Regions from separate parts of the Homo sapiens genome. Here regions 1, 3 and 4 are each linked to region 2. Evidence: promoter capture Hi-C in 16 types of primary human blood cells and fetal thymus (Javierre and others, 2016). All regions are on one chromosome and are shown on one strand. The core of a region is centred on a gene start or on the middle of the fragment in contact, and the rest is flanking DNA. Distances in the headings are between cores, read along the strand shown.

Region 1 (2,805 bases), core at 222-2,721, 160 kb after region 2:
TTCAAGTGATTCTCCTGCTTCAGCCTCCCCAGCCTCCCGAGTAGCTGGGACTATGCTACCACGCCCGGCTAATTTTTTCGTATTTTTTAGTAGAGACGGGGTTTCACCATGTTGGTCAGGCTGGTCTTGAACTCCTGACCTCAAATGGTCCACCTGCCTCGGCCTCCCAAAGTGCTGGGATTGCAGGTGTGAACCACTGTGCCCAGCCTTTTTTTTTTTTTTTTTAAATAACTGCTGGCCCAACCTTGAGAAGGGTGGTGACGTCCTTTATTTAATGTAATATAGATTGGCTGGAGGCCCGAATCTTGGTTTCCATCATCATCCTAAGTGAAGTTTTACAGGATTGGATTAGAGAGGAATTCTAAAGGGCTGTATGCCCTTGTGATGGTGATTAGCCGTTAGTAATGGGAAATTCCTGGGTGGAGATATTTATTTAACGTGCATTCATAAGCCGGTGAACACTGAACTCTATCTCTCCCAAGCTTTAACAATCTTTCCTTGACACATCTACACCTAAACATTTGTAGATTTTTAAGAAGAAAGATTGGAAACTAGATTGCTTCACCCATAAACCCTGTCTTATTAAACCCTAATTGGGCTCTGTGCCCCAGCATATCCTTGCAGTCTTCTGTTGGGTATCATAAGTGAATTGTTGTGCTCCTTTATTATTATTCAAATTATAGAGGCTGTGACATTGGAGAACTGGATCTCTTACATAATAAAATATTCAGAATTCCAGACTTTCAACATATAAAACATCGTAAGCAATAGATTAATCACAGTGTTACATGTGTCACCAGATTTCTCCTCTGCTCTCTCTTAAACTGCCTTCCAAGTGACCTGTCCCTTGTGACAGTTTTTTAGGAGAAGGTAAAGGATCCACCTCTGCTTGTTCGTGTGAAAAATACTGATGCCTGGGCCCATTCCTCAGAGATTCTGATTTATCATTCTGAGGTACATCTGGATATTTAAGAGCTCCCAGATGATTTTAATGTGTAACTAAGGTTCAGAGCTACTCTGTTAGCCAAAATGCTCCTCCATTTAATCATGTACTGAGTTGTTCCCTTTTTAGCAAATGTTAGAATTTACAATAGGTGGGAGGATTACCTGAGCATTTATTACATGCTTTATATTTTATTACATACTTTAACTGTCTTACTGTATTTTCATGGTGACCCAGGAAGTTGACAAGCATTTGCTTCGAGGGTTCCTCCCCCTTCACTAGAGTCCTGCCGAGGCTGTTGCCTCACCATTTGGTTCTCTATTTCATGCCTGGCATTTCATCTGTAACTTCATGGCAGGCTGGCATTTTGGTGAGGGCAACTCTCCACAGCCACACCCATTAAGTGTTTAAAAGGGTGCATTATTTCTCATCTTTTGAAATATTTTGCGTTCTGTGTTTTTCAGGAGCCTATTAAAATTTGCAGAATGTTTGGTAAGCTCTCTAGGGTTGTGGAAAGCACACTCCCTAGAAGCTATTTTCTGTCTTTTACCACTGATGAATAGTGTGACTTTGAATAAATATGTAACATTTTGTAAAAGGGACATTATTAACTTGCCAGAAGACATGCACTAGACTAAGTGGAAGTCCTTCTTTGGCTATGAAATTTCAGTAGTCTCTGACTTTCTTTAATGACGTGACATGACTGACTTCCCATTTCTCCTCTTACCATTATTTTCAACTCAAATCCAGCTTTTATGCCTCTATGTCCTCCAGGTAAGAGAGACTGAAAATCAGTAGGTCTTGACAACTGATTAAATGTGAACATTGAGAGAAAGACCAAAGATGTCTTTAGGATAGATGTCTTTAGCCAGGCGTGGTGGCGCACGGGGATGCATGTTTTCAAACCTGCCTGATTCTCTGAACCTCCTGGGACATTTGTTAAATATGCAAATTCACAGGTTCCACTCTAGACCCACGAATCAATCTCCAGAGGTGGGCCTGGTTGGGCATTTTTATCAAGTTTCTAAGTGATTCTTGTGATCAGGCAAAAGTGGGAAATTGTGCTATAGGAAATTGAATCTAGTTGGTGCTCGATAAATGAACATATATATATATATTCTACTAACTCATTTAATTTTTTTCCTGGAGTTTTATAGATTAGCTAAGATCCACACCCCAGAATTAGAAGAATGAACACTATTTGCAAGAGAAAAAACTGAACATTTATTATCGTGTTCTACTTAGAGGGGCTTTCAGTCTCTGATACTTAGTGATGCTTATGTGACACTTAAATATGTTGATAGCAAATGGTGATAGGTTTCTTTTGAATGTATTTCATAATCTGTCCAGTAGAGAATTAGACTGTGGAGCTTTGTGAGCATATTTTTAGGGTCTATGCCGTGGACTATGTTTTAGATGAGATGGTGAAATTAGATATTTTGGCATTTAGCCATTGAGTTTCTTAATAGACAGTTCTATGGTCTGGTTTATATTAAGTTTCATCAATAGCAAGCTTACTGTATTTGTAATGATTTTGCTTATAATTTTAATTTTGAATATGTGTTCTTTGATACTGAAGGTTACATTTGGCAAAGGAACATTGCCTGGTACTGAATCATATATAGTTATATTGCTTTGTGTAGAATACATATGAATGTCTTTTACCTTGTAGCATTGCTGTCATAGGGCTATGTAATTACATTTAAAAACTTTTTAAAAATTTGCTCACACTATAGTCACTGTTGGATGAATGTCATGATAGTGTATTAAAATTCATTTAGGTTTCACTTTGACTTCCACATCTTTTTTTCATGACATGACATGAGTTACGTCTTATTAAAAATATATATAGTTTTCTGTTA
Region 2 (2,700 bases), core at 1-2,500:
TAGAAATCCTTCCATAAAAATACTTTTTAAAAAGTCACTTTGCCTGCCTTTTTTTTTGTTTTCAAACGAATCCAGTCATATCTGTAAAACAAGTTTCCATCAGATCTCATTTTATAAGCAACATCCTCTTCTAAGCCACCTGAAACTGACTTTGAAGAGCTCTTCAAACCATTTCAAAAATTTGTTTGTTGGCTTGTGCTTTCTTGGGTTAATGCTTCTAGAGTCGTCTCCAAGTTTCAAATTTTGCATGGCTGCTTTTTTTTTTTTTTTTTTTTTTTTACTTCGCTTCAAGAGTCAGTCTTAAATCATGTAGGTTTTGCTTGAGGTTTGCTCGAGCAAGAGGACCTTAGGTTTGGTCTTATTTGCATTTTTACCATAACTAGGCCTACATTCTAAATAAGTAACTAAATGCCACCTATGAGTTTCATTAACTGTGGCTGCTTGCCACTTTTTAGTTCTGGTTAGGGTGGTGCTATTGTTTTCCTCAGGTTCATTAGAAACATCTTCCGTGACAGCTCTGACGCGGCACCGATTTCTGAGTGTCCAGTGTTTTCCCTACCATTATTTTCTTTGGTCTGAAGTTGACACTTAAACTGTCCAGTTTTAAACCTCCGATCCGTGTTCCCAAATGAAAACATGACTTTCATTACGAATTACACGTCAAGGGAGCAAACCAAGGCGCTCGGGGCGGCGAGAACCGCGACACAGCGCTTCGCCTGGACTGGTAAACAAACCGCCGCGCAGGCGCAATGGCAACAGGACGGTAACCTGGGTAGCCGCCAATGGGCTTTTTCGTAGAGTGAAAAGCGGAAAAGCCAAACAAAACGCTGGTTCCAAGGTGATAAACTGGCTGACTTCCTCTATTTTTACTTTTTTAAAAAATTTTGTTTCTGAAGAAGTAGTTGTGCGGCCTTCTGGGCCTCGCAGAGATCTTCTTCGTGGAATTCCTCGGCCCCAGAGAAATGCCGCTAGCCTGTCGGCTAGTTATATTAGCCTAATTTTTTGTCTTGATCTTTTTCATTTGACTGCAGCACTAATCCTAATCCACTGGGGCAGCAAAAAAAAAAAAAAAAAAAAAAAAAAAAAAAAAAAAGGGCGGGTGGGATCTCAACGCCACGGAAAACCTTCATACTAGCCGGCCATCACCAAACCACGCGAGATCTGCCTGAGGAGAAGCGCCACCCCGGGAGTGCACGTTTGCGCATGCGTCTGGCTCATCATTTTTAGCGCGCAAAAGTTTCAAAACTTTCCGCCTAGTGAGAGGCGGTCCGATTTGGCCCTTGGGGAGTGTCCGTCGCGTTGATCTGATGGATTCACGTACACAACACCACATTCTATGAGATTTTGCAGGCAAAAGTCCACAAGCTCGTATGGTCATCCCTTCTTTCCGTTTTTATATTGGCCGTGAACTCTGTGAGGGGAGGTTTCAGCGACTGAAGTAGTAAAGGAGTGGGAGCGGGAGAGCCGATTAATGAGGTTGTAGAATAAGAGAGAAATCTGAAGGGACAAAGGAGTTTTATTTATTTTTTGGCTGGTGACCAAGAGGATGTGAGTGTGAGCTAAGGTAATACAGTGGGAAGGAGAAGATGGGAAGATTTGAGAGATAAATGAAGGCAGTAGCTCTGTAGCCTACCTGGGAGGCCAGACTAGAAAGAAGTTGACAGTAGAGGACATTTTTCTTAAAAGAGTGTGAACTTATGCATGTTTGTAAACAGGCAGAAATGGCATGCATTTAGTACATGGTGTATATAAGGTGGAAATCGGGACGCCCCTAATGGAATGGAATGAGGAAGATTCTAAAAGCCACAGTCCTGAACACAGGCCGAGGTGGAATTGCGAAGAACAGTCGCGGTAACAGAAGTCAGGAATTTGGGAACTGTCTCGAGGGATCTGACCAATCTGACCTCTTTTTGTCTCTCAGGATATATGGGACACCTGCACCGGCATTGGATTTGGCCCCGCAACATCTTAAAGGTACCACCCAACACCTGAAGTGTCTGCCTCCTTCCGATGGAGCCTCCTGGCCCCTCCCACCTCTCACCAGCTTTACCCTTTAGCCAGAATGAAATGTGGATTTCATGGAATGAAATGGTGGCATTTAGCTACCACATTACTCAGATGTGTCACTGACACCTTACAGAAGTACATACTTCTAGCCTCTAGCCTCCCAGTTCACTAGATATTAGAGTCCATCTTGATATCGGCAGCAATTCTATGCCACTTAGCTACTATAATTTGATTCTTTGTATACTATCTGGAGTACAAGGCAGAAGAATGCTGATGGAATACGTAATTTTACTCCAACAAAGGAATGGCTGATAGGTAAAGAGTATCACTTCATCTGTAAGAAAAACTAAATATGGAAAGCCACAGGATTGAAGCTAGCAGTGATGGAGAAGGATCCCAGTGTGAATATATAGAATGGAAGTACTTCAGTAAAGAGCCAGGCATGGTAATCACTTACCAAGAAAGTGACTTCATTTCATTTTGGCAGCCTAAAGTATATCCTGGCAGCTGCGCTGTATGTGTGAAGTGCATAGGAAAATGCTGCAGGAAAAATCCATGGAGGCAATGGAATAGGATTTCAGGGTTGAAGCCTGGGTGTCTTGTTTTAGGGAGTGGGATCATCCAGCTCTGAGAGGCATGACATCTCGATATGATGTCATATAAAGTGTGTACAATTGGGAATCAGACCTGGGC
Region 3 (2,700 bases), core at 44-2,543, 240 kb after region 2:
CAGATACCAGTAATGCATCATGGTTATTCTTTAAATCTGACTTGGACTCAGAACCCTTCCTGACACTGAACCCCAGATGGCCACTTTCGAGTTTACGAAGATGAAGAAACCTATTTGGGAATCCAGGACTAGGCACTATGAAAGTGGCTCTAAAACAAATTGTTGAGGCTAAGTAAAACATTTTTAATCCTAAAGGAAGGTGGTAGCTGAGTCTGCAAGAGGAACAGTCCAAGGTAAAAAGCTGTGTTCATAAGATCCTGGATCTTTACATTAGCCATACCATGCATCGACTAACCCCAAAAGGAAGCGTGAGATGCCAGTTCTCAGCAATTTCCTTGAACCTTTAAGCCTGCTTATTTTTAAATGGACTCATACTGACAGCATTCATTTTTTAAAAAATAAAAACTATATATTTACAGCACACATGTTTTGACATACATATACATAGTGAAATGATTTCTATAGTCATGCTAATTAAAATATCCACCTCCTCACATACTTACCATTTTTTGCTTCTGACACCTTCTTCAAGACCTTTCTTCCAGTTTGCAAACCCGGTGCTTGTGTTTTTATACATCGGCTATCCCGATTTGGTCTTTGACTCATGGTATTAGCTGTCTCCACTCCGAAGAGTAGGAGGCCCATTGCCACAAATCAAGATATGGCACGTTCTAGCCCACCTGCCACCTCTATCCCCACCAGACCATGGCTACTTGACCTGCAGTAGAGATTCAGACAGATTATAAAGGTTAGGGTATGACAGGCTGCAACAAAACCTTTCAGGGTCAACTATGTGCTTTCTGGCTGTCCGACCCTCTCCAGATCACCACTCCCATGGAGGGTTTGGGAGTATGAATCTTTCCTGGACGCCTCTCTCTAGCACAATGGACAACAATGGGCAAATGTTTTCCTTAATTACGCCACAGGCTGAATGGCACCAATTACCACATTCTGGACACTTTGAAGTGACCTTGTTTCTGAAGACAGTAGTTTGCAATGGCAGCCTGTAAGAATAAACTCTTGCCGGCGTGCGGGAGGGAGTGGGTGGGGAAGGATCGCCGGCAAGATCACGAGGCGAGGCTTGCGCGCCGGCCCGCACCCTGGCCCCCAGTGCCTACCCGGTGGGCCCGACCCAGCCACGATCAAGGCGATCCTAATCTTAACAATCATGGGAAACCGCGGCTCTCCAAGTTCTACCAGCCCTATGGATTTGTGGAAACATTAGACAAATGTTTTGAAAATGTTTGTGAACTGGATTTGATTTTCCATGTAGACACGGTTCACAATATTCTTGCAGAAATGATGATGGGGGAATGGTATTGGAGACAAACATGAATGGGATTGTTACACAAATTGGTGCACAAAATAAGCTGGAAAAATCTGAGGCTGGCTGAGGGGGAGCTTCAGCCTGTGCTGAACCTGTATCAGCTGTAAAAAATGTGAATCTTCCTGAGATCCCAAGAAATATTAACATTGGTGACATTACTATAAAGTGCCAAACCTGCCCTCTTTTAAATAAAAATTTAAAAAGGCTACTCCCAGGTAAAATCCAGGGGGGAAAGTCACGTAAGTTTACCAAAAATAGAGGAGGACAGTCAAGTTTTGCTCTTGGATTTAAGTCAAGGTACTGTATAAAAGCTGTGTAAAATCAATATGAAAGTTCAATGCTGCTTTCCTTTTTTTTTTTTTTTTAATTTTTTTTTTTGAGAAAGAGTCTCGCTCTGTCGCCAGGCTGGAGTGCAGTGGTGCGATCTCGGCTCACTGCAAGCTCCGCCTCCTGGGTTCACGCCATTCTCCTGCCTCAGCCTCCTGAGTAGCTGGGACTACAGGCGAGCGCCACCACGCCCAGCTAATTTTTGTACTTTTAGTACAAAAAAAGTACTTTTAGTATTTTTAGTACAAAAATTAGACGGGGTTTCACCATGTTGGCCAGAATGGTCTTGATCTCTTGACCTCGTGATCCGCCCGCCTCGGCCTCCCAAAGTGCTGGGATTAGAGGCGTGAGCCACTGCGCCCAGCCAGTTCAATGTTGCTTTTCTTGCTCAGTGATTTTAAGGAAATTGAGTAGTTCCTATGTGATTTATTTATTTTTCTAAACTGCATTCCTGTGCCTACCTACGGCATGCCTCTATGTATTGGCTACTACAGTGTTTTAAAAAGTGTTTGAGATATTTCTTTAATTATGTACAACCTAAAGTGTTGGTGTTTTGTATGGATCACAAGTGCGGCATTCCTTAATTCCTTCTGCTGTTTGTCACACAATTGTTAAAGAACCAGATATGTATCGCATGAAAACATTATGACGTTTTTCTCTTAGTTTAAATAAACTCCAAGGTAACTGGACTTCTAAAGCACCTTTCTGTTTGCCTGATACCTACTTTAGCAATAATTTTTTTTACAACCCTCTGACTCAACAAAGTAAAGTATATTTTATCACTGTTAAAAAAAAAAAAAAGAATAAATTCTTGCCATGTATTCTCATAGGCGTACCTTTGATCTGTCAACCAGAAAAGAGAAATCCCTCTCTGGTAAATCTCACTCCACACACTCTAACAGAAACAAAACTGGCATCCATACTGGAGGACTATTTCTTTTGGTAATCAATGCACATCATATTAGAATGATTTGGTAGATAGAACCCAGTATATAATATACACAAATTCTCTAGTTATTTTAATTATTGTAATAAAATAATGTATA
Region 4 (2,700 bases), core at 10-2,509, 170 kb after region 2:
ATACCTGTAGTCCCAGCACTTTGGGAGGCTGAGACAGGTGGATTGCTTGAGCCCAGGAGTTTGAGACCAGCCTGGGCAACATGGCGAAACCCTGTCTCTACAAAAAGTACAAAAATTAGCTGGGTGTGGTGGTGCGCGCCTGTAGTCCCAGCAACTTGGGAGGCTGAGGCAGGAGAATCACTTGAGCCTGAGAGGCAGGGGTTGCAGTGAGCTGAGATTGTGCTACTGCACTGCAGCCTGGGTGACAGAGCAAGACCCTGTCTCAAAAAAAAAAAAAATTTACCCTCTAGAAGTTCAGTGCCAGAAGTAGACATGTAGTTTTATGTAGTAGAGGATTTCATATAAGCAGAGATGGACCAGGGGAGATAGGAATCCGAGAGTATTGAAGGTCAAGGTGAAGTCCAAGCAATAAGCGCAAAACTTCAACTAGTGTTAATTAGAAAGTGATTGATTAAAGGAGTTTGGCAAGAAAGGGAAGCACTGGGTTCAGCTTTAAGGGCTCTCTATGTCTGGGTTGCCAACTTAGAGTTCCAGGTTAAGGGGTGAGATTTTTTTAAGACTAGGAGTTAGTGATTCTCTGAAGAATGAAGCAGGAAAAAGTGAAGGATAAGCTTACAGGGCCTTAAGCAACTTGGTGGTAGGGAGATGGCCTCCGGAAGGAGACATGACAGGGCCATGGCTGTGAGCTTCAGCACTTCACAGGCCTAGCTCAGCAGCTGCTGTGACAAACATATCAGTTGTTTTTGTCCTTCCTCTTCCTTAAAAGATAGCTGAAATTTATAGAAACTCCAGTTTTCCTGCATCTTCTCTCCTCCGTGAGGGCAATTTTAAAAGGCTGCTGTTTGCGCCCTGGTACTCGCGTGAGCTCACATGTGCACACACATACACACATATACACCTACCCATTCATCGCAGGAATTCTCAAGCCATTTCAGAAAATATTTTTTTTTTTGTCCTGGTAACACAGGATTGCTAACTTTGTCCTCAGCTGCCATTCTTTGTGGGATTTCAATAAATAAGCAAATAAAATATAGGAAAACTATTTGGAATAATAATACTTCAAGCAGCTTTTTGTAGCCCTTTTAATTCAATACTACAGGTCATTTAGTTCTGAGCCCTAGGTGATTATAATTCATGATATGTCTTGTTTTGTTTTCTTTGAGTTTTTACATTTTGAGGTAAAATGGAATTATCACTAGCACATTTTTCTGAAGCCATACCAATTTGTCCTTTTTATTTGTTTGTTCAAATGAAGCAGTGCATCAAGTATGGAATTAGATTAATGGAGTAAATATTATGAATCATACACTCTCTCTAATCTGACACTCTTTCTTCTTTTTTTGACCTCACGTTTTGTTTTCTGTCTTTCTCTCTCCGCGTAGGCTTTCAGTCCAGTGTAAAGCTGTTGGAGCGCGGGAGCAAAGGTAAAGAATGATGTAATGCGCTGGCTGCTCCAAAGCATCTTTTGTTGTGGAATGGTTATTCCAGTCATCTCTTTATGAATCAAATGTGAGGGGCTGCTTTGTGGACGGAGTCCTTTGCAAGAGCACATCAACGGGAAAGAGAAAGAGACATTCACTTGGAGGGCTCTTGCTGAAAATGGGTTTAACTCTCCTTTTGCCAGTCACCACCAGCCTGACCTCATACACTTTTAGTACAATGGAGTGGCTGAGCCTTTGAGCACACCACCATTACATCATCGTGGCAAATTAAAGAAGGAGGTGGGAAAAGAGGACTTATTGTTGTCATGGCCCATGAGATGATTGGAACTCAAATTGTTACTGAGAGGTTGGTGGCTCTGCTGGAAAGTGGAACGGAAAAAGTGCTGCTAATTGATAGCCGGCCATTTGTGGAATACAATACATCCCACATTTTGGAAGCCATTAATATCAACTGCTCCAAGCTTATGAAGCGAAGGTTGCAACAGGACAAAGTGTTAATTACAGAGCTCATCCAGCATTCAGCGAAACATAAGGTAAACGCTTTCCTTTTTGCCTTTTCAAAATAAATGGACACACTGAATGAGGAATAATTTTAATTGAAGCCTCCTCTTTAAGTAGAGAAAGTAATTTGAGGAAGTTTTGGTTGCTTTTTAAATTTTGGTGCCTTGTGGTACCTCAAAATAATTTATTGTCCATATTGCCACATTTAATAATATTTCTAAACTATGAAGGATTAACTTGCTTTAGTTTGGACAAGTGCTATATTTTCTTGTGGCTTGCTAAAATGATTTTATTAAACACTATTCTATATTATCTGCAAATTTACTGAAAGGAAAGTCATTCTTTTCAAGTTCTTTGGAAAGAAAGTAGGAACTAATTATTAGGGGTGCTTTTTATGTGTCATAACACATGTGGTAACATTGGTCAAGACTTAATGATATCTTCAAGGGAAGTTATTCCTGGGATACTAAAATGTTGTCTGTGTGGTGAGGAAGTTGGTTTTTTTCTTCACAAATACAAATGAGCTCATGTTTTAATTTAAATAAACAACTGATTTCTTTGTTAAGGTGTAAAAGTCATTTTAAAAAAAGTTTGTTTAGGTCCAGGGTTATGTTTATTTTGCATATTGTTTGGTTTATTATGAACTTTACCATTTTATAGTATAAAGGATTTAAAACCAGGGAATCGTGAGATCACCTACACAGAAATAGCATCATTTTGGTTTTTAAGAGTTTTGTATGTGTCTGTCTCGTAAATT

The links. The method cuts DNA at HindIII sites, captures the fragments that hold promoters and counts their contacts. A CHiCAGO score of 5 or more calls a contact.
Region 1: a contact is called between a fragment that was not itself captured here and the fragment with the promoter of GPR19 in region 2, in 1 of 17 cell types (total CD8 T cells). The highest score is 6.0, in total CD8 T cells.
Region 3: a fragment that was not itself captured here is called in contact with the fragment with the promoter of GPR19 in region 2 in 8 of 17 cell types (total CD8 T cells, naive CD8 T cells, total CD4 T cells and 5 more); the score reaches 10.7 in total CD8 T cells.
Region 4: a fragment that was not itself captured here is called in contact with the fragment with the promoter of GPR19 in region 2 in 1 of 17 cell types (total CD8 T cells); the score reaches 5.9 in total CD8 T cells.

What each region holds. Positions count from the first base shown.
Region 1 is chr12:12,537,172-12,539,976 of GRCh38, reverse strand. All of the region lies in intron 1 of DUSP16 (dual specificity phosphatase 16), which reads left to right. Among named protein-coding and RNA genes, the nearest start is that of DUSP16, 24 kb to the left of the region's middle. The HindIII fragment of the contact is 1,974 bases long and covers 485-2,458 here.
Region 2 is chr12:12,694,733-12,697,432 of GRCh38, reverse strand. GPR19 (G protein-coupled receptor 19) reads left to right here and starts at 1,250. Exons shown (of 4, transcript NM_006143.3): 1 at 1,250-1,368; 2 at 1,922-1,974. RefSeq lists enhancers at 1,083-1,162, 1,343-1,502. The HindIII fragment of the contact is 8,608 bases long and covers 1-2,700 here.
Region 3 is chr12:12,450,922-12,453,621 of GRCh38, reverse strand. All of the region lies in intron 3 of BORCS5 (BLOC-1 related complex subunit 5), which reads right to left. It also overlaps the pseudogene AP3S1P3. Among named protein-coding and RNA genes, the nearest start is that of BORCS5, 95 kb to the right of the region's middle. The HindIII fragment of the contact is 4,586 bases long and covers 1-2,700 here.
Region 4 is chr12:12,520,146-12,522,845 of GRCh38, reverse strand. DUSP16 (dual specificity phosphatase 16) reads left to right here. Exons shown (of 7, transcript NM_030640.3): 2 at 1,383-1,975. The coding sequence starts at 1,748. Among named protein-coding and RNA genes, the nearest start is that of DUSP16, 41 kb to the left of the region's middle. The HindIII fragment of the contact is 1,292 bases long and covers 614-1,905 here.